Regions from separate parts of the Homo sapiens genome. Here all the other regions are linked to region 1. Evidence: promoter capture Hi-C in 16 types of primary human blood cells and fetal thymus (Javierre and others, 2016). All regions are on one chromosome and are shown on one strand. The core of a region is centred on a gene start or on the middle of the fragment in contact, and the rest is flanking DNA. Distances in the headings are between cores, read along the strand shown. Region 1 holds the start of FAM200C (family with sequence similarity 200 member C). Region 2 overlaps MAT2B (methionine adenosyltransferase 2 non-catalytic beta subunit). Region 3 overlaps HMMR (hyaluronan mediated motility receptor). Region 4 overlaps CYFIP2 (cytoplasmic FMR1 interacting protein 2).

Region 1 (5,555 bases), core at 1,338-3,837:
TGCTTCGATTTTTGTGGCCCTATATTTAGTATTAGCACACCTTGGTTTTGAGAAAAAAACAGGGCTTTGTTTTTTTAAATAATTACTAGCAACTCTGTGACTACATTTATTTTTATTTTTTTTAGAGACAGGATCTTGCTATGTTGCCCAGGCTAGAGAGCAGTGGCTTTTCACAGACAAAGTCATAATGCCCTGCAGTCTTGGGCTCAAGCGATTCTCTCTTCCTTGGCCTCTGGAGTAGACTAAATGTGTTAGTCTTTGAATGGAAAACAACTATTTTCTCATCATTGGGTCAATATTGACTGATCAGTAGTAGGTCTTTTACCATTCTGGACATAAGTCTAGGTGTAGAAATCCTTTCCTTTATCATAGAGGATATGGTTTACATTACCGTTTGTTTTCATTGTGATTGCCCCTATGTAACAATCATGAATATTAGATTTTTTAAATTGTAGAATATCCTAATATTTATAGCCAGCAGCTGTTACTTTGTTTGTAAAATTTGCAAAAAAACAAAACCTGAAGTTGGTTTATTGAAAGAATTATAAGGATAGCTTCTAGGGATATTAGTAATAGATTGCCATGATCCTGAAGCCTCTTCTCAGAACACTGTGAAGATAATACTGACAGTAGAATCAGTGAAAACAGCCTAACAAAACCTCTGACATCAGTATATCAACTTTTAACAGCCCACTCACTGGCTTTTCTAAACTACCAAAAACCACCTGTAGGATACTGCATTAAGTCAGCATCTCAGAAACAGTGGTGTGAGTAACTGAGTCAAATTGTCAAGTACTTTGGATATACATAGTGTCGAGCTTTAGATTGGTATGAAATTAAACAGCAATGCAAATAGATTTAATTCCTATTTACTTTAAGAATGAAAAACAATGTTCATTTTCCTACCTAAACAGGGTGGTTCAACATAAAGGCTGATGTTGTGTCCGTTTTGTATTTTATCTTTTGTTAAAGATACATAAATGACAATACTTAACTGTGAGTGGTTTGTAGCATTATTTCTAATATTTGGCAGAAAAGTTGTTTATGGGACAGGGAGGGGAACCTGGATTAGCTTCTGTGAGTTTAAGAAAATTTCAGCATCTTGTCACCTAACCTTTCTGGACCTCTTTCCCTCTTCTATGAGGCCTGGTTTACTTAGATTTAGGAAGAATTCTGTAATATCCAGAATCATGTCTTCTGTTTTATTTTGGAAAAGTAATGCCTAGCCAGCCTGGCCAACATAGCAGAGCCCTGTCTCTATGAAAAATACGAAAATTAGCTGGGCATGGTGGCACACGCCTATAATCCCAGCTACTCAGGAGGCTGAGGCATGAGAATTGCTTGAACCCGGTTCAAGAAGTTACAGTGAGCTGAGATTGCGCCACTGCTCTCCAGCCTGGGCAACAGAATGAGACCCTGTCTCAAAAAAAAAAAAAAAAAAAAAAGAAAAAAACATAATGCCTAGGACATTACTCAGATTGAGCTTTGATTTTATTATCTCAATAATAGCTGCCTTTTGAGTGCGAGAATTATGTACTGTAATTGTCATAATGTTATCTCCTTCCTCAAAAGAATTTCATGGGGTAATGGATGATATGTAAGTTTTACAAAAAGCACATGGAATTAACTCCAAGTAACCTGCACAAATCCTAACCGTTGGAGTCAGGACATGAAGCTAGCTGTGGGATTCTGAAGCCTACCCCTTTCTCTAGTATTGAAGGCCCTAATTTCTTGACCAACAAGGCTGGTCTTTAGCAGTTTCTTCCATCCACAAAAAACTTCAGCAGCCCGTCAATATTTACCAGGCTCACCCTTAACACCTGAAAATGATGTATCTGGCCCACATTCGTTGACGCCCCACCACTCCTCACACACACTAGTCTTATGGAATGCTTCTAACAAGATTGTACAAAAATGAGTAAACTCATTAAGTTTATAAGAATTCTGGAAAGACCCCCAAACAGGAAAGGGCTATATTCCGGTTTCTTTCAACAACGTTTCCTAGTTTCTACTTGGGATTTTTCTCTAAAACCTCTCTAATATGGGTTTATTTCTTTGAAATCATGTTGTTGAAAGAATTTAAAATAAAAATATTTCAGATATATGATGATGACATGGAAATTCATCCCTATGCTCCCACTTACGGAAAGTGGGATCAGCTTGCATAGGCAACAGTACACAAGCTATGGAAGCTCATCCTCCACTGCTGAAATGTCTAATCTGAAATTACAATGAGCTTCCTTCTCTTTTTCTCTCATTTATTCCACATGGAACATGGCAATTATCAGGCGTTTTATCTCCAAGCTCAAAGCCCGACACAATATAAAAGTTTAAGTGCTCTGCATGTTAAAAAGAACTATGTGGAGTTTACAGCCCCTTCCATTCCTGAAATTGTACAGTTCATCCTCTCTGGCAGACACAATAAACAAACGATTTCTTGTTCCACGTACACAATCTTAAAAAAAAAATTGGGAAGGGCTAGCGCGCATGCTCAATACTCAAGCCAGCCAGCCCATCCCACAGCCCTTTGCTACTGCGCCTGCGTGTGGGAGACGCCTCTCCCAGTTTGCGGGCGGGAAGCACCCTGGAGAACCCGGATGGAACCCGGGCCTGGCTGAGGCGGAGGTTGTTGCGGATGCTTCTCTCTCCAGGCGCACCGCAGATTCCTGCCCGGGGGTTGGACCCGAGGAACCGCCGTCTCTACTGGTTCCGACGGCCAGAGGCTGGGCCCTAGGCTGAGCGGAGAGTGGGACTGGAGCCTGAAACGGGCGCCTAAAAGAAGCCCGTGCATCCCATAGGCCTGCGCCTCAGGCTTGGAGACGGGCGGGCGGAGACCGCGCTGAGTCTTTTTTTTTTTTTTCCTAGCAGCTGGCGTTCTTATCTCACCCGGGAGGCTGTAAAAATCTCCGTCCTTAACAGTAACACCATCAGGTCCTATCAGTTAAGAGCTGCTTGTTATTTGCATGCATTCTTATAATTAAATCTCCTAACAACCCTGTAAGGTAGGTACTGTTATCCCCTCTGGAGGAACTGAGGCTTGGAAAGGTCCCATCCTGTAAGTGACAAAGCCACGATCCCAGGCGTTTGCCCCTGGAGCGTCTGCCCAGCCACCAAGTTCCTGCCCCCATTCTCCTGGCTATTGATTTTAACTGTAAAATGTAATGGTTAAATGCTCTGCCTCCCCAGACACCTGCGCCTATCATGATCTTGCATACGCAGTGGCTAGAAAGAAGTTGAATTGTATTTGGTTTGGAGTTTTAGGTTTACAGCTGCACTTTGGTGTTTTCACTGCTGGAATATATATATATTAGCATTCCCTAAATATTTGTTTTGTGAGTGTTCACTTTTAACTGATTTTTCTCATTTGTAATACTTTTTCATATCTACCCTTCATAAACTTGCAAAAACATTTTACTTTGTTATATCAGATCTTTCATTAAGCATCTGAAGATAATCTCTCAAAAGAATCATGCTTAAAATGAGTGATATCTATCTTAAGATAATGCTTTTTATCTTTTTATTATGGAAAGTTTCCAAAATACATTAAAATAGAACGGTGTAATGATGTATACCCATCATCCAGCTTCAAGAGTTACCAACTTAAGGCCAGTCATTTCTTTTATCTCCACCCCGCTTTGTGCATGTTTGTGAGTGTGCTGAAGTACGTATTTCAAAGGAATCCCAGACATCTTATTTCACTTGTAAATAATTGTCTGTATCTAACAAATGAGGACTTTTTAAAAACACAACCACAATACCATTATCATGCCTGTTTAACAATATCTCCTTATCATGATGCTTTTTAATGTTTACGTTTTTTAGGATATTGTAATTCCTAAATACCACAAAAGCGCAAGTGCAAATTGTGAGGTTCTAAAACACAAGCCTCTTGGGCAGTAAGTTCATCTTTGAGGCCCTTGAAAATTCTTGCCACCTGTTCTCCCTTTTTGAGGGTTATGGAGAAGAATACTTTAAATTGATTTTCCTAAAACTGTTCAAAACAGATAAATTTTAAATTAAAATATACTTGAGAGACATAGTCAAGGTGGATAGGAATGGACTCTTAACAGATCTTGTAATGATTTCCAGTTTGTTTTGTTTTTGAGACAGAGTCTCACTCCGTCACCCAGTCTGGAGAGCGCAGTGGCATCATCTCGGCTCACTGCAACCTCTGCCTCCCAGATCAAGCGATTCTCCTGCATCAGCCTCTCCAGTAGCTGGGATCACCATGCACAGCTAATTTTTGTATTTTTAGTAGAGACGAGGTTTCGCCAAGTTGGCAGGGCCAGTCTCAAACTCCTGACCTCAGGTGATCCGCCTTCCTCGGCCTCCCAAAGTGCTGGGATTATGGACATGAGCCACCGTACCCAGCCTTTTTTTGAGACAGAGTCTGGCTGTGTCACCCAGGCTGGAGTGCAGTGGCGTGATCTCAGCTCACTGCAATGATCTCAGCTCACAGCAACCTCTGCCCCCTGGGTTCAAGCGATTCTCCTGCCTCAGCCTCCCGAGTAGATGGGACTACAGGCATGCGCCACCACACCCAGCTAATTTTTGTATTTTTAGTAGAGACAGAGTTTCACTATGTTGGCCTGGCTGGTCTGGAACTCCTGACCTCAAGTGATCTGCCCGCCTTGGCTTCCCAAAGTGCTGGGGTAGCAGGCGTGAGCCACCGTGCAGGGCCCCTCTTGTAATGATTTCTAATGTGACTAAAAACATTTTCCTTTATTCCCTCTTCCTCCCCAAATATTACATGATAAATATACATTAATAGAATACAGAAAAATAAGCATTTATGGTAATGTCATAATTTTATCGTCATTAATTAGAAGTGGTTCTAAGCAAAAGTGGTCATGTAGTCTCATTACTTGACAAAAGAAGTCTTAAGATCAGCTCTTTAAACTTCAGGTTGTCTTTTTTGATTGGCAGACATCCTCCAATTTAACAGGCTCATAACAACCTTGTAACAGCTCAGCTTATTTTATTGGAGTACACTTTACAACTAGTTCATCTTGGTAGATCCACTTGAAAGCTAATGCTTTAAGTGGATATTCTTGGCTTGTGATTTTTCTTTTAATGTCCAAAGTGGGCATTCAGATTTAAATGTGTACCTGTTACTTTATTTCAGCCACATTCTCTGGCACAGAACTTTGGAAACTTTGGGGATCACTTACTTATCTTGGAGATAGAATGTTTTCTAAGGTATATTTGAGCCTACCTGTGGATTATGCCTTTACTCGTTGCTAAAGGGAGAGAAAGAGAAAAGATATGGCTTTCATTTTAGGTTTCAACTTTCATAGGAGGCTGTCATCAACTCAGAAAATGTAGAAAATTTAAATATCTATTAAAGCATTGGGACCATTCACTTAGAAACCTAGAATATTTGTTAGCTAAGGATTGGTTTGAAGGATACGTTTTTATTCCCCTAAGCCTGACTACTTAACCAGGTTGTGTTTCAGGACTGCCTGAACAACATTATTTCATATTCTTTTGTTCTGCTTCTGGAGAAGATATGTATTAGTTCTAAGGTAGTGCAGGGACGTGTATATTTTGAAAGG
Region 2 (5,555 bases), core at 334-2,833, 3.1 Mb before region 1:
CGGGAGGCTGAGGCAGGTGAATGGCGTGAACCCGGGAGGCGGAGCTTGCAGTGAGCCGAGATCGCGCCACTGCACTCCAGCCTGGGCGACAGAGCGAGACTCCGTCTCAAAAAAAAAAAAAAAAAAAAAAAGAAAAATTCAGAATGTTTTGGGGTTAACATTATGAAAGATGACTGTCCCTCATGCTGCTTAGAGAAATGTTATCCAACTACATAGACATTGGTGTCATCTTATTTGGTGTCATATCATATGGCATCTATTTTTTCCTCTTCCTTTCTTGACCTCTAGTTTCGGGGTGAATTGTAACTACAGACGAACACTTCTGAAGGCCAGAACCATCATCCCTCTTTCAACTTTCCAAGGACCTTATGTGTTCTAAGCACATAAAGCCTGGGGGTGACGCTGTATAAGGAAAATAAAAAATTATTTCCAGCCCTCCTATATGCCAAAGTGTTTGATTTATCTTGAATAATTTTTAGCATCTCACATTAAAACATTTTAAAGGCCATATATCAATTTTTCATTTCAAAGGGAATATTTTTTAAATCTATAACAAACTGGGGGGAAATTGAAATTGTTCAATAATATGTAGCATGTATATATGTCAAAAATTAGAATTGAAATGGGGACCATGGAAAGCAAAGTAACTGTAGACACAGCTGGGAAATTTCATGGCCATCTTTCAATGTAAATCACTTGCAAGTAAATACATGAAGTGAATGTATTCAATTTCCAGAGATACATTTATATGTATATAAATTCAAGTATTCTGGCTATTTCTGTAGCAAAATACAGAAAAGAACTTTCAGAAGTCCTTAGGTAAAACAAGTTACAAAAATAATTTTCTTTGAAATATTTTTAAATGCATTTACAAAATACTAAAATTAAGTCTAGAAAATACTTAAAAATCACAAAGAAAAACCACTGGTAATCTTATTTATGAGAGAAAACTCCTAATATCTTACAGCTGAAAGTGAAGGTAATATTACAAGACCACCATTTCTCCCCCATACCCCAACCCTTAGGCATTTGTTAAGTCCACAGCTACATGTGCTAGTATCTCTGTTCCAAGTATTTCCACGACAGACCTGTGAAATAGGTGGTATTCTTTTCATTTAACCCTAAAAATTACTTCAAGCTCCGAAAGGAAAAGCAACTTGCTACTAGCAAGTGGAAAAATCACGTTTGAATCTAGAGTTGTTTCTTTGCACTATACATAATACTTCCTTCAAGTAAAAAAAATATCTTGACTAGCCTACCCTTGAATTAAAACCTACTGCACAAAAAAAATTACAAAAAAGCCTACTGCTATATTTAATGTTGATGAGATGATTTGGCTGCCAAAAGGGTATAATTAGCTTATATTCCAGTACAGATACCTAACTTACAATGGGGTTACATCCTGATGAATCCTTCATAAATTTAAAATATCCTGAGTCAAAAATGCATTTAATACACATAAACCTACTGAATATCACAGCTTAGCCTAGCCTACCTTAAATATGCTCAGAACACTTACATTAGCCTACAGTTGGGCAACATCTAACACAAAGCCTATCTTATAGCAAAGTGTTAAATATCTTCTGTAATTTATTAAATACTATACTGAAAGTGAAAAACGGAATGGTTGTATGAGTACTTGAAGTATGGTTTCTATTGAATGTGATTACTTTCACACCATTGCAGTCAAAAAATCTGCTGAACCATTGTAAGTCAGGGACCATCTATACACCAACAAATTGTGATTTCCCTCATTGATACAATGGAATAAATGCAGCCAAAAAAAGAACTAGTTCCTTCTCTTTGGTGCTCTGCTGGTACATAGTGGCACATGTGATTCTTGGTGCAGTGCTCCATGGGTCGGGAGGATCCTTGACCAGGTACAGTGGTCCCTGCAGTCACTGGCATCAGGGCCAGGTCACATGGGTCTGGGAATGCTCAGCTGGCTTGGAGGCCTATGTAAAGTGGAGAACAGAGGAAGGCTTGGCTAGTGTCATCAGAATGATTCTTATGGATGAATGAAGCAAATGAATAAATAGAATAATGAGGGCTGAGGCTGGGCGCAGTGGCTCACGCCTGTAACCCCAGCACTTTGGGAGGCCAAGGCGGGCTGATCACGAGGTCAGGAGATCGAGATCATCCTGGCTAACACGGTGAAACGTCATCTCTACTAAAAATACAAAAAAAAAAAATTAGCTGGGTGTGGTGGCGGGTGCCTGTGGTCCCAGCCACTTGGGAGGCTGAGGCAGGAGAATGGCATGAACCTGGGAGGCAGAGCTTGCAGTGAGCTGAGATCATGCCACTGCACCTCCAGCCTGGATGACAGAGAGAGACTCCATCTCAAAAAAAAAAAAAAAAAAAAATTCGAGCTGAGCACTGTGGCTCATGTCTGTAGTCCCAGCACTTTGGGAGACCAAGGTGAGTGGATCGCTTGAGCTCAAGACTTTGAGAGCAGCCTAGGCAACATAGTGAAACTAAAAATACAAAAATTAGCTGGGTATGGTGGTACATGCCTGTAGTCCCAGCTACTCAGGAGGCTGAGGTGGGAGAATCACTTGAACCCAGGAGGTGGAGGCTGCAGTGAGCTGAGATTGTGCCACTGCACTCCAGCCTGGGTGAGAGTGACACCCTGTCTCAAAAAAAAGAACTGAGAATTCGGTTGCTGTCAGAGAAAGGTGCCACAAACATGGGAAGAGCCAAAATAAACCCTGTGGAACAAGACTGTAACTGGAGCTATCGATGTCAACTTATGGTTTCTTATACAGAGAAATGTCAAAAATATCAAGCTCATGAAAGACAAACACTGAGGAACTGTTCCATATTGAAGCTAAAGCAACATGGCGACACACACAAGTAATCTTGGACTGCATAGACCTATAAAGGAAACTGGAACAACTGATGAAATCTGAATGGGATCTTATGAAATTGAATGGTAATTTCTTGATTGTGATTATATTACAGGGTATATAGGCATGTATCCTTATTTTTAGAAAATATACACTGAGGTTTATATACTAAGTGGGTGATGAAGCATCGTATCTTCAACCTACTCTTCAATAGTTCAGGAAATAAAAATAGTATACATATGTAGTGTGCATGAAAATGATAGGGTAAATGTGCTAAATGCTGACAACTGGGGAATCTGGAAAGGGAAATACAGGCATTATTTATGCTATCATGGCAAATAATGAAATTTTTAAATGAAGATTTTTAAAAAGGACATTTTTGGCCAGGCACGGTGGCTCATACCTGTAATCCCAGCACTTTGGGAGACTGAGGTGCGCAGCTCACGAGGTCAGGAGATCGAGACCATCCTGGCCAACATGGTGAAACCCCATCTCTACTAAACATACAAAAATTAGCTGGGTGTAGTGGCGCTGCCTATAATCCTAGCTACTTGGGAGGCTGAGGCAGGAGAATCGCTTGAACCAGGGAGTCGGAGGTTGCAGCGAGCCGAGATCACACCGCTGCACTCCAGCCTGACAACAGCGCAAGACTCCGTCTCAAAAAAAAAAAAAAAAAAAAAAAAGGACATTATTTATATTATACAACAAATTCCAAATGAAAAAAAGGTCAGAGAATTGTATGTTATTCTTTGTGAGGGCGGATGGTGAGAGTATGGACACGTGAGTTTTTTGATTATATTCTTCTATATGCAGAGTGCCTCTAGAAACATATGCAAGGAACTGATCTACATCCATTTCTTCCACAGTTGAAAAACGGGTGGCTAGAGAATAACAACACTTTTTACTCTCCGAAACTTAATTATGCACTATATGAAATGTAGTAACTTAAAATATAAAACAAAATGCTTTAATTTAGTGGTTGCCAAATGCAATGCCAGACTGGCAACCTTAGAACCACCTGGGAAACATTTAAAAATAAATTAATAGGCCTCAATTCCCAAAATTTATTTCAGTAAGCCCAGGGTAGGACTCAGGTATCAGTAAAATTTCCCCAGTTAATTTCCTCAGCCTACTCAACATGAAGATAAGAATAAAGAACTTGATTATGATCCAGGCCAGGTGCAGTGGCTCACGCCTGTAGTGCCAGCACTTTGGGAGGCCGAGGAGGGTGGACTGCTTGAGGGCAGGAGTTTGAGACCAGCCTAGCCAACATGACAAAACCTCATTTCTACTAAAAATACAAAACTCAGCTGGGCGTGGTGGCGGGTGCCTGTAATCCCAGCTACTCGAGTGGCTGAGGGAGGAGAATTGCTTGAACCCAGGAGGCGGAGGTTGCAGTGAGCTGAGAATGCACCACTGTACCCCAGCCTATGCGACAGAGCGAGACCTTGTCTAAAAAAAAAAAAAAAAAACTTTATGATAATCTACTTCCACTTAATGAATAGTAAATATATTTTCCCTTCCTTGAGATTTTCTTAATAATATTTTCTTTTCTCTAGGCTACTTTAAGAATACAGTATGTAATACACAGAAGATAGAAATATGTTAAATGACTATGTTTATCAGTAAGGCTTCTGGTCAACAGCAGGTTTTTACTAATTAAGTATTTGGGGAGTCCAGAGTTATAGTGGATTTTAGACTGTGCAAGGTTGATACCCCAAACCCACACCGTTCAAGGGTCAACTGTATAATGTAACAAGATTATATAGCTATTAATTTTTAGTTAAAAACAAATCCGTTCCCACAAATAGATACAGTAACTGTAACATTCTAGGATGGGGTGGTAAGTTAACATTCTGGATCAAGTGTTAATTTTATTGTGTTTTATTTCAATACATATTAAACTATATTCTTTTGTATGTATCACATGTTACATCAGAAGAATGTAATTTTTAAAAATTAAAGCAACAAAAGAACAATTAGTTTAGAAGTTTGGTCCTTACATTTAAAAAAAGAAGTAAATACAAGAAAACTAAGCATTACATGCCAGCAGTACATATTTATTATTATTCATGAATGGTGAAAAGACTTACAAGGCCCATTATTATGAGTATAACCACACATATGAAATATCACTTAGCGGCAACATGGGATGAAAAGGACAGTTATATATTTATATTAAAAAAATACACGTTTGCATTCAATGTTTGCCTAGAAAAAAAATACATGTACACACGCTCTTTCAAGTGCTCCCCATAAACTGCTATAAAAGCAGGAGGCATCAAGCTGTAGAAGTTCCAATATACATAACATGTTGAAATATCTCAAGCATAAAAACTGTACGTAACTTGCAAAAATAAAGTTCCTTTCTTCAAACATTTTGATCTGAGCTCAGGCAAAGCAAATAATGAACACCAATGATTTTTATACTATTTCACACAATTTAAAATAATCAACATGAAAAGGTCAACAGCTTCAAAAATCCTGAAAATATGGAGGTTACGAGAATGAACAATTTCATCTGAAAAGTCTACAGCAGATCTGCTTCATCCTGACTCTCAAATATTTAAGGATCATAATTTACTATACTCAAACTCCAAGTTTAGCCAGGACAAACAAAATGATAAAAAGAAAAATTACTGCAAACAGGGCATGACTGCCCTTTAGTTTCTTTAGACAATTTCACTAGTGCAAGAGCATCATTTACCT
Region 3 (5,555 bases), core at 1,061-3,560, 3.1 Mb before region 1:
TATGTCCTCAGGATAAGACTCTAAAGATAGAATTGGTAGATCAAAGGATATACACAATTTAAAGGTGTTCAGAGACATAGGGAAATGTATGACACAAAATGAACAGTTTAAAAAAATATGGTGGTAAATTACTTTCTCTTGTTGCAGAAGTGAATCAATTTGTAATTCTTTTTGTTGAAGCTTTTCACGTTCCTGTTGTTCAAGAATAAACTTCTGTTTTAAGTTTTGCATCTCTGCATTTAGATTTTCGTTGTGTTCTCTATTCCTGTTGACATGGTCTTCTAGAAAACGCAAAACATCAAGAATACTGGAATTAGATAAGAACATTAAGACTGAGAAACCTGGACTCCCATAATATTCCATTACACTGCTTTTAGCATGGTATTTCCAAAGAAGAAAACAAAACTGTGAACTTTGTATCATTACTCCATGTAATATATACTATGTGCTAAATAATAAAACCCACAAATCTTGTTCTGTGTTATCTACTGATTGTTACACAGCCACCTAGTGGAAAAGTCAAGAATTATATGACTGTATATATTTCAATCAAGACAGGTAATATGCTGTATTGAAATAAACAGAAAACAAACATTATAAGAGTAAAATATTCTAAAATGCAGTACAGGTTTTTGCTGTTGTATAGCTATATAGCTAATTATATTTAAAATGTTAGTATAGCTAATTATATTTAAAAGGTTGTTTTAGCATAGTAGTATTTTTCCTAAATGTTGTATGTAACACTTATCTAAACAAAGTAACTATAAAACACTGTAATACCTTTTTCTTTTTCAAGCAGCTGACATTTCACATTTAGATCTTCTACTTGTTTAGATAATATAACAATATTCTCCTCAAGAGACTGCTTAAGGCTTAAAATTTCATCATTCTTCTCTTTCAAATTTTCTTCTAACTGGGCAATATCTAGCTTGTATTTTTCCACTTGATCTGAAGCACAACTGCATTAAAACAAATTATCTTAAAAAGCACATCTATTTAGGCACAGGGAAAATAACAGAAAAATGATGAAAATGACTGAGTATTAAAAAAATAAGGTTCAATTTAAAGCTACTGCTCATATTACCTAATTTCTTCGATGTATTCCAAGAGTTTTTCTGTTTCAGATTTTTCATCAATCTTTTCTTTCTCTATTGAAACACTAAAACAAAAATTGCATATGTTAATACATTCTAGTTTCGTTATTTAATAATCTTACATAATGCTTATGTACCAGATACTCCTGTATCAGGCAGGCTGACTACAGAGCCCTAACTCTTAACTATTATTTTATGTAATTTCTCAAATTCACAATTTACATCAAAATAGAAGACTAAAATTTTTATTTAAGTGAGAAAGTTTTCTGAATATATACTGACAAAAAAACCTATGATGACAAGAACCATCATTACAGTATCCCAAGTGTTAGAAATAATATTCTTTTTGTGGTCTTCCTGGTTTCCCCACCCATCCAACATACTAAATAGCATTTTGTGTGCCCATAAAGCTTTTGTCCCAGACTACCTGGTCTTCAATTACTTATCTGTTTACCTCCACCAAACTGTCCAATGCAAGAAATGGACAAAAGACTTCAATAGACACCTTGCAAAAGGTGATATGCACATAAAATGGTCAATAAGCACATAAAAATAAGGTCAACATTCATGGTAACAAATTAAAATCACAAAGGAGATACCACTTCCTACCTAGTAGAAAGGCTAAAATCAAACAGACTGACAACATTAAATGTTGGTGAGAATCTGGAACAACTGAAACTATCATACATTGCCAGGGGGTGTATAAAAATGGCAAAAACACTTCTGAGTTTTAAAAAACATTATATATACACTACCCTATTACCCAAGAATTCTACTCCTAGAAATTTCTCTGAGAAATAAAAACGTGTCCATAAAAAAACATAAAACATGTTCACAGCAGTCTTTTTAATGGCAGACACTGGCAACAGCCCAAATAATGATCAAAAGGAGAAGAGTAAAGAGATGGAGGTATATTCATAAGGTGAACCACTACTCAGAAATAAAATAGGAAAAATTACAGTATACAGAACGGTTTGGATGAATCTTGAAAAATTACATCAAACAAAAGAAGCAACACACACACATGCTCTTTCTCTTTTGCATGTCCTAAAAAAAGGCAAAACTGGCCAGGTATAGTGGCCCATGTCTATAACTCCAGCACTCTGAAGGCCAGGGTGGTATCACTTGAGTCCAGGAGTATGAGACCAGCCTGAGTAACAAAGCAATGCCCCATCTCTAAAAAAAAAAATAAATAATAATAATAATAAATAAAAAAAGGCAAAGCTAATTTATGATGATGTAAGTGAGAAAGTAGTTATGGGGATGGGGACATGACATAGGCAGTAGCAGGGGGACAAGAAGGGGTATGAAGGAACTTTCTGAAGGGATGAAAATGTTCTCTATCTTGTTTGGTAGTGGTTACGTAGGTGTATACAATTGCTAAAGTCACCAAACTGAATACTTACTATCCACACATTTTATTATATGTATATTAAAGCTCAAAATCAAAGGCTAGGATTGTGCATAAATCACAATTTCCTATACCAGTGTTTCTCAATTTCAATCTAATGACCACTTTCATAAGATCATGAAATCTTTCCTCATCATTAATAATACAGAAGATGTACAAAAGTAATGCACTCATACAACTTTGTAGCACAACATGTTTGAGAATGATTAGGGCTCATTCTAGTTTAAAAAGAGAAATAGGGCAACTGGAGGGAGGCAATGAGATAAGTACTAACAGAAGGTTGAAGTCTCAGTAAACAATAATTTGTGAAGAGACTCAAATCAAGAATTGCTTCCACTTAACAATTTCTCTTCACATTCACTCACTTACAGTTTTCCCTCCAGTTGGGCTATTTTCCCTTGAGACTCTTCGAGACTCCTTTGGGTGACCTGCAGCTTCATCTCCATGCCTTCTTGCTTAGCCATCATACCCTACACAACAAAGATACCTGTTTTAGGAAATGAGAAAGTTGTACTGATCCCCAGATCCAGACACAGCAAACCTGCCAAGGGCAGCACTCACCCTCATCTTTGTTTCTCTTTTGTTTCTAAGTTTCATCAACTCCAAGCTTAGAATTCTCAAATTCTTCTGGTTACCATTTTCAGAAAACTAAATACAACAAACACGTAAAAAATTCAGAAATATTTTCTGCTAAGACATATTTAAAATACACAAATATTGATTTTTCTACCTATCACTGGGGTTATGTTTTTGACTTTAATATACTTTGGTAGAGAGAACAGTCTTTGACCTACACCATAATTACTGATTGATTTAATTTTTTTTTCTTTTCTTTTTAAGAGATCAAGTCTCGCTCCGCTGTCCAGGCTAGAGTGGAGTGGCATGATCATAGCTCGCTATAATCTCAAACTCCTGGGCTCAATCAATCCTCCTGCCTCATCTTCCTGAGTAGCTGGGATTACCGGTGTGCACCACCACCATGCCTAGCTAATTTTTCAATTTGTTTATAGAGATGGGGTCTTGATATGTTGCCCAGGCTGGTCTCAAACTCCTGGCCTCAAGCAATTCTCCAGCCCTCAGCCTTCCAAAATGCTGGAAATACAGGCATGAGCCACTGTACCAGTCTACTGTTCTTATCCCTCTTTTCCTTAATGTGACTTGCTGGTTTATTTTTATTTTATTTTTGTAAGACAGAGTCTCACTCTGTCACCCAGGCTGGAGTGCCGTGTTGCTCACTGCAACTTCCACCTCCCGAGTTCAAGCTATTCTCATGCCTCAGCCTCCCGAGTTCAAGCTATTCTCATGCCTCAGCCTCCTGAGTAGCTGGAATTACGGGTGTACGCCACCATACCTGACTAATTTTTGTATTTTTAGTAAAGATGGGGTTTCGCCATGTTAGGCTAGGCTAGTCTCAAAATCCTGACCTCAAGTGATCCATCCGTCTCAGCTTCCCAAAGCGCTGGAATTACAGGTGTGAGCCACTGTGGCTGGCCTGTTGGTTCATTTTTGAAAGGTTGTTTGGGTGGTCACTTACCTCTATATGCTGGAAAGTCCATTGCAAGACTCTAAAGCAAGTCCCTGAGAAAGGATTTCTTGAAACATGTTTGCTTAACAAAATGAATCTGAATCGCCTGGTGTATGTTGTTTTGTTTTGTTTTGTTTTTTGAGATGGAGTCGCACTCTCTTGCCTAGGCTGAAGTGCAATGGCGCCATGTCAGCTCACTGCAACCTCCACCTCCTGGGTTCAAGTGATTCTTCTGCCTCAGCCTCCCGAGTAGCTGAGATTACAGGCGCCCGCCAATAGGCCTAGCTAATTTTTGTATTTTTAGTAGAGACAGGGTTTCTCCATGTTGGTCAGGCTGGTCTCGAACTCCCGACCTCAGGTGATCCGCCTGCCTTGGCCTCCCAAAATGCTGGGAACACAGGCGTGAGCCACCGTGCCCGGCCCTAAAAAACGTGTTTATATTTATTCAATTGTAAATATTATCATGAGGCTCAGATACCTTAGATTTTAGTAGTTCATTAGTCCTGGTCAATTCAATAAGTTGTTTTTCCAGTGTAGCATTATTTGCAGAGAGAGATGTTTTTTCCCTTAGTGCAGCATTTAGCCTTGCTTCCATCTTTTCCAACTCAGTTTCCAGATCCTGGATCCGCCTGTCCTGGGCACCACGTTCCTGTAGAAGAACACGAATCTGGACAAAAACAAGGTGATAATAAATGATTCACTGATAGAATGCCAACATAAGGAGATGCTACCAATAATCACCCCTAAAGTTTCTGGAAAAATCTCTGATTTTGACATTATGCTTGTAGATATTCTAATGTTACTAGCTATTTGAATAATCATATTTACCTATGATACATCTTAAAAGTCTTAATGCATTTTAAGAACATAAGAACTTTAGTTGCCATAAGTTCCAAGTACAATTAAGCTATCTATTCACTTTTTTTTTTTTTTTTTTGAGATGGAGTCTTGCTCTGTGCTCTGTTGCCCAGGCTGGAGTGCAGTGGCACGATCTCGGCTCACTGCAAGCTCCGCCTCCTGGGTTCAAGCGATTCTCCTGCCTCAGCCTCCCGAATAGCTGGGACTACCAGCACGGGCCACCACACCCGGCTAATTTTTTGTATTTTTAATAGAGACGGGGTTTCACCATATTAGCCAGGATGGTCTCGATCTCCTGACCTCGTGATCCACCCGCCTCAGCCTCCCAAAGTGCTAGGATTACAGGTGTAAGCCACCACACCCGGCCGCTATTTATTCACTTTTAAGGTATTTCCACCTATAATAGTTATTTTCTCTAGCTTCAATTACACAAATTCAAATTAGCTTAAAATGCTAAATGTTTTTTATTTCAAGAAGGCAGAGCTGGGCTTCTGAGGAGAATGTACTAGGCATTGGCAAGCCATCATTCTTGCTGCTATTACCAGATTAAAAAAACAAAAAACAAAAAAAAACCCAAACCAATATTTGTCAACAGAAAATGTGGAAGCCAAAAGACAATGAAATGATATTTTTAATATAATGGGGGGGAACCTGCCACCCTAAAATT
Region 4 (5,555 bases), core at 1,544-4,043, 3.1 Mb after region 1:
CATTTCTTATACAGGAGCCATCATCTCCTGGTCGTCCTCGGAGCCCTGCCTGGAGGACTATTACCATATTATGTACAGGCCCAACTGGAACAGCATCTTCTCTGGCTATCTTCGCTACAGCTTCCACCACGAGGAGAAGGTGCCTCGAACGATCAGCTCCGTGGTGCTGGAACATCTTGCCCCTTCCACTCTCTACTTCCTGTGCATCAGCTGTAAGAAGGCTGCCTTCCCTTACAGGCACTACTGCACCATGTTCCACACCCTGGATAAGAGTCCGCTGGCTCCTGGAAGCTCCCTGGTAGACCCCCAGATCTCCCTTTGGGTGCTGATGGCCATTCTGCTGGCCTGCTTCACAGCCGTCTTGGCCTTCATCTGCCTCCAGTTCTGGTGTGTCCGTTGCCATGAGCCGCGATGGTCTTACAGGGCTGGCCACATGGAGGAGGCCAATGGGTTGGTGAGATGGCCAGAGGAGGCCCCGGATCTTGGTCAGAGGGAGGAAGACCTGCAGGGGCTCCCCCTGGTGGAAATGCCACGCAAGAACTCCAGAGATGGAGCTGAACTGGATCCCGAAGCCAACCAGGATGCCCCTGATGCGGGTGCCTTACAGAGGGGGGGTGGTGACCCACCCGCTATACTGCCTCATTGTGGGGAATGAGAGTGGGGAGGAGAGCGCCCGCATCATGTAGCCTAAAGCTTTCCACACAGTAGGTCGTTTGTACAAATGTGTCTATAGACTACCCATTTCTCTCCCATCAAACGTCACTGCTATTGTAGGTCACCTGGGTTGGATGAATGCCCCATGACAAAGCTTCTCAAGCTGGAAAATGTATCCCCCAGGGTATGCCAAGGCACAAACGAGGCATCTCAGCAGCAGCGTCCACTCGGAGGACACAGTTAAGAATTGAAAGCATTGTTTTAACATTAAAACAAACATGGATATGTTATAAAGTAGAAAGCAAAAATTTGCATGACAAATAAAACACAGCACTTGAAGGAAACACTTGAGTTACAAGTAGGCTCTCAGAGGTACACTTTTGGGCAAAGGTAGATGTCCAGTTTCCTCTGCCCTTGAGGGGATTATTTGGAAATAATTTGGGATTATTTGGAAATAATTTGTGAGAACCCTTGCTCTGGAGTGTTTTCCAACTTTTAGGCAATCACATACCACCGCTCTCTATTTTTTAAAACCATGGATTATCTTCACTATTATTAATAATACTTTCCTTTAAATTGACTCATTTTTTAAGCGTAAACTTATTTTCAAAGACAGCCTTATATTACTCCATAAGTGAAAAACCAGCACCCTCCTGCTGCAAACAGAAGGGAAGAGACATAAGAATAAACATCATGAAAACAAGATAATATTAAATAATCTGACTTAGCTTCTATTGCCTGCCAGTGATTCTGAGCTTAATGCCTGCTTGCTTGTCTTTGATAAAAAGGGAGATCCAGTGTTGGAGAGGTAATAAAGACATATTAGCACCAATATTTGTCTTTCTCCTTGATATAGCATAAGGTTTGAAAGAGAATCGAAAAGGGAAGTGCTGTTTTTACTTTGCGAGTCAGTGTTAGTTAAATGCCATGTCTGTGAACCACCTCAAATGCTGTCAGTCAGCTTCCCTTGATTTGAGAAAATTGTCTTGACCAGACTAGGCAGGCTGTTCTGGAGAAGACGCCTGTACTCTCCAAGCATCATCCAAGACCTTCCCAGTACCCTCTTATATCTATAGAGCACAAAATCCCAGAATCACAGGACGACACTGCAGTGAATCAACTAAGAAACAGCAGGAGCTGAGAAGCCAAGACGAGAAGCCCCACATCCCTATTCCCTTGCCTACCTCATGCATTCCCTGCTCGGCACCCAGACTTTTGCCCCCATTCCTGCTACTTGTGAACAAATAAAGATTCATATACTCACAGCTGTTTCTGCCTGGATCTTATTGCTGCCTTTTTCCTTTCTCTTTAGAGATAAGAGTCTCGCCCTGTCAGCCAGGCTGGAGCGAAGTGGTACAATCATGCTCACTGCAGCATAACACTCCTGGGCTCAAAGGATCCCCCTGCCTTAGCCTTCCAAGTAGCTACTGGTGCATGCCGCCATGTCTAGCTAATTTTTTATTTTTTATTTTTTTGGTAGAGACAGGGTCTCGCTATGTTGTCCAGGCTGTTCTCAAATTCCTGGCCTGAAGTATCCACTGGTCTCGGTCTCCTGAAGTGCTGGGATTAAAGGTATGAGCCACTGTGCCTGACCTCATTGCTGCCTTTATCTCTGCACCTTCTTACTCTTCTAATTAAGAGACACTTTTCTATTTGCTTTTTCTCACCAACCCTCTTCTAGGCAGGGTAGGGCAGGACTACTTACCTTGGATCCATAGAGGTAATAAGGCTGGACGTTGGCAGGTTTGTCTCGTTGTGGTTCTTGGGTGAAAGGAATGGCAGTCCGCACAAAACTAGTAGAAGCATAGGGATGGGAAAGAGTTAATATGGTCCTAATATTATTCTCCATGGGACACAGATAACAGGAGTGCTTCCTGGCCAGGTGAAGGTTTGCACTGGTACAAGTGCACTGTTTGTTAGGTGGTTGACTATAAAGGTACTAAACTCTTCTGACATCTTCCCATTCAACTGCCGTCTCCTTTCTATAGATGGGAAAAATTCAGTCTAGATTCCTGGGCTCAACCAGGGGCTTGTGGCTGCTCCGAATGACACTAGGCAAGAAACTAAGAGTGGACTTTCTCTAGGGCTCCACTCCTCTACCTCCAGTTTGGTTTCTCAAGAGCAGAGTTCAGCAAACTCTTTCTCAAAAGAGCCAGGCAGCAAATATTTTTAGCTTTGGAAGCCAGACGGTCTCTGTTGCAAGTACTCAACTCTGCTGTTGCAGCATGGAAGCACCCACAGACAATAATAAACAAATGAGCATGATCGAGTTCCAATAAAACTTTATCAAATACAAATCATTTTCACTTGTCACCAAATATTATTCTTCTTTGGATTTTTTCCCCTCAACCACCCAAAAGTGTGAATACTATTCTCAGCTCATGGGCTTTACAAAAACAGTCAGCAACTAGATGTGGCCTGTGAGCCACAGTTTGCTGCTCCCTGCTCAAGAGTGTTAAAGCTCCTAAATCTTTATAGAACTGGAAATCTATCTCACTTAGTGTGTGGATCCAGGTGCATTTGTGGATATCTCCCATACCCTTTCATTCATTCAACACACACTCATTCAATACTGGCCTTGAGCCAAGGCTTGGAGATACCTAGAAGATCTGCAGATGAATACATTTTTTTTGCATCCTTACATACTTATTTTGTATGTGAATATATATGCCTTACTCTTCCACTGGGTTATGAAACTTTGTGGGGATAAAGAAATTAGGTCTTGTCTCTACCTCAGTGCCTGGCCCCGGGCCGTGTGCACCTTGCAGGAGGCAAGTTCCACTTTGTCATGCGTATGTGTGCTCTGCAAATGTATGCTGTTTTGCAGGCATGCTTTCAGATACGTGGATATCCTTACAAACATACAATCTGATCATGTCATCTCCTTTCCTCAAACTCTTTCAGGGTTAATAAAAATGCACGATCCTGCCCTGGCCTGTAGAGTACTGCACAATCTGTTCCTGTGTTATCTTTCACAGCACCATTTCCCACCCGACTAGTTTTACCCTCATCAACTTCTTGGAGAAACCCTTAGAAACTTGTCTGGAATATTCTTCTCCTGCCTTTTTGCCTTATTTATTCCTAGTCATCCTTTGCATCTTAACTCCAGCATTACTTCCTCAAAGAGGAAGCCTCCGTTGAGGTTTGCATGACTTTTTGGACTGGAATAGGTGGTACTGTTACCACTGTCATGGCCCTGTGGGCTTTCCTTCATCTCCTTATTCACTGTTTGTAATGGTACATTTGTCATGTGATTGATCACCCACATCCTCCTCTAGTCTGAAGACTCAAGAGGCAGGAAGGTATCTGCTCACCATGGCATGCCCCATGTTTTACTGGAGCAGGAAAACACCCCAATGGGCAACTTCAGAGTAGCAGTAGAAAGAGCTCTTCAATGAAAGAAGACCTAATTGTTAACCACATTCAACTGTCAACCAGCTCTATGACCTTAGGCAAGTGAGACAGCACAAAGCCTGTGCCCAGGAGGGGCTCTGAGAGACACCTGTTGCAGGAACCACTCACACATGTACTGGGCCTAGTTTGGAGGAGGCAGCTGGCCACTCCCCCAACCCCCACCCGGCCCCCTCTGCACAGGGACTCCCTTACCGGTTAGTGGACCCATTGTAGCAGTAGTTGGGGAGAAAGTCAAAGTTCAGTTCCCAGAAGACATGCAGGGTGATACGGCCATAGGGGGCGGACACATTGTGATTGGCCTCTCGGAACATGGCATCGAAGCTGTCCAGCGTCATATGCTTACAGAGCAGCCGATGCGTGAGCCGGTTAATCTCCAGCAGCCACTCCAGCTCCTGTACAGAGAGAGAGCCCACAACTGCTGAGGACTTGCTTGTAAGCATTACATGTGTGTGTTTTATCTTACTGCTTCTGTTCACGCAAGTGACAGCTGCTCAGACAACCTCCTGGCCATCTACATGGGAACTAGGACCCTTACAGTAGCAGGTGACAAGGTTCCCTTCTGAGAAGTGGAAGGATTGTCAGACTACGCTGACAGAAATGGAGGCCCAGAAGGTTAAGGGCAAGGTAGGGGAAGGGGAGGTTGCACGCCTACCCCCTGGAAGGAGACCATAGACCATGTGCAAATCCCTTTTGGGTAGAGAACAAGCTTACTTGCTTTCCAGTTTCTATGTTGGTGAGAAAAAAGCAATACTAAGAGCTACCACTAATTAAGGGTTTACTATTAGGTTGAACCCTATGACGTTACTTGTTTTTTAGGGCCAAATATTGGCAATTTTGCCTGGTTCAACCAAATTAGTATGTGCCAGTTTTATATGTGTCAACTTGTTTAATGCTTATCAAACCCTATGAGGTCAGTATTGCTGCCATTCTTATTTTATACATATGGAAACCGAGGCTTTGAGAAGTTAAGTAACTTGACTTCAAATCCAGGAAACTGGGCTCCCAAGTGCACATTCTTAACCACTATATGCTCTAACTGCTATAGAAGTTTTAAAAAGAGGTGGGAGCAGAATGCCTCATCCTTTGGAGTGTAGGCCCCTTGAGGTATCACATGGGGTTGGCAAAGGCGTGGCTACAAGCCATGGGCAAGCAGTCTGCAGTCTGCAGTCAGCTCATGATGACCGGGATCTATGTGCACTGTGGGCCCTGAACGAAGGAAACCCATCTTCAGGCAAAGTGGGACAGAGTATCTGCACACAGCAGGACATGGCATTTGTTGGGAAATGAAAGAAGAGTGTAACTCTTTCAACACGCTTTGGACTCTCATTGTCCTGCAACTTCCCCGCCACTGCTATCAAAAGGAATCAAAGTACAGTCTTATGTAGAGACAGAAAGCACCTTAGGCCACTCCTGTGCTGTTTTGGTTAAGCCATCTTTTAGGATCGGTACAATGGTCCCTCATTCAGAGAGGGGAAATTGAGGCCCTG

What was found. The method cuts DNA at HindIII sites, captures the fragments that hold promoters and counts their contacts. A CHiCAGO score of 5 or more calls a contact.
Region 2: a contact is called between a fragment that was not itself captured here and the fragment with the promoter of FAM200C in region 1, in 1 of 17 cell types (naive CD8 T cells). The highest score is 7.0, in naive CD8 T cells.
Region 3: a fragment that was not itself captured here is called in contact with the fragment with the promoter of FAM200C in region 1 in 2 of 17 cell types (M0 macrophages and total B cells); the score reaches 11.2 in M0 macrophages.
Region 4: a fragment that was not itself captured here is called in contact with the fragment with the promoter of FAM200C in region 1 in 1 of 17 cell types (neutrophils); the score reaches 16.1 in neutrophils.

What each region holds. Positions count from the first base shown.
Region 1 is chr5:160,397,086-160,402,640 of GRCh38, reverse strand. FAM200C (family with sequence similarity 200 member C) reads left to right here and starts at 2,587. Exons shown (of 2, transcript NM_022090.5): 1 at 2,587-3,002. It overlaps SLU7 (spliceosome associated SLU7), which reads left to right. Exons shown (of 16, transcript NM_006425.5): 16 at 1-1,000. RefSeq lists enhancers at 2,898-3,047, 2,941-3,626, 3,946-4,445. The HindIII fragment of the contact is 7,568 bases long and covers 1-5,555 here.
Region 2 is chr5:163,518,482-163,524,036 of GRCh38, reverse strand. It overlaps MAT2B (methionine adenosyltransferase 2 non-catalytic beta subunit), which reads right to left. Exons shown (of 7, transcript NM_013283.5): 7 at 4,683-5,555. Among named protein-coding and RNA genes, the nearest start is that of MAT2B, 16 kb to the right of the region's middle. The HindIII fragment of the contact is 9,934 bases long and covers 1-5,555 here.
Region 3 is chr5:163,468,783-163,474,337 of GRCh38, reverse strand. It overlaps HMMR (hyaluronan mediated motility receptor), which reads right to left. Exons shown (of 18, transcript NM_001142556.2): 5 at 4,509-4,697; 6 at 3,067-3,153; 7 at 2,875-2,975; 8 at 1,085-1,159; 9 at 781-959; 10 at 133-281. Among named protein-coding and RNA genes, the nearest start is that of HMMR, 11 kb to the right of the region's middle. The HindIII fragment of the contact is 1,608 bases long and covers 1,507-3,114 here.
Region 4 is chr5:157,337,962-157,343,516 of GRCh38, reverse strand. CYFIP2 (cytoplasmic FMR1 interacting protein 2) reads right to left here. Exons shown (of 31, transcript NM_001037333.3): 22 at 4,261-4,460; 23 at 2,360-2,447. It overlaps FNDC9 (fibronectin type III domain containing 9), which reads left to right. Exons shown (of 2, transcript NM_001001343.4): 2 at 1-1,919. The coding sequence ends at 655. Among named protein-coding and RNA genes, the nearest start is that of FNDC9, 4.9 kb to the left of the region's middle. The HindIII fragment of the contact is 3,966 bases long and covers 811-4,776 here.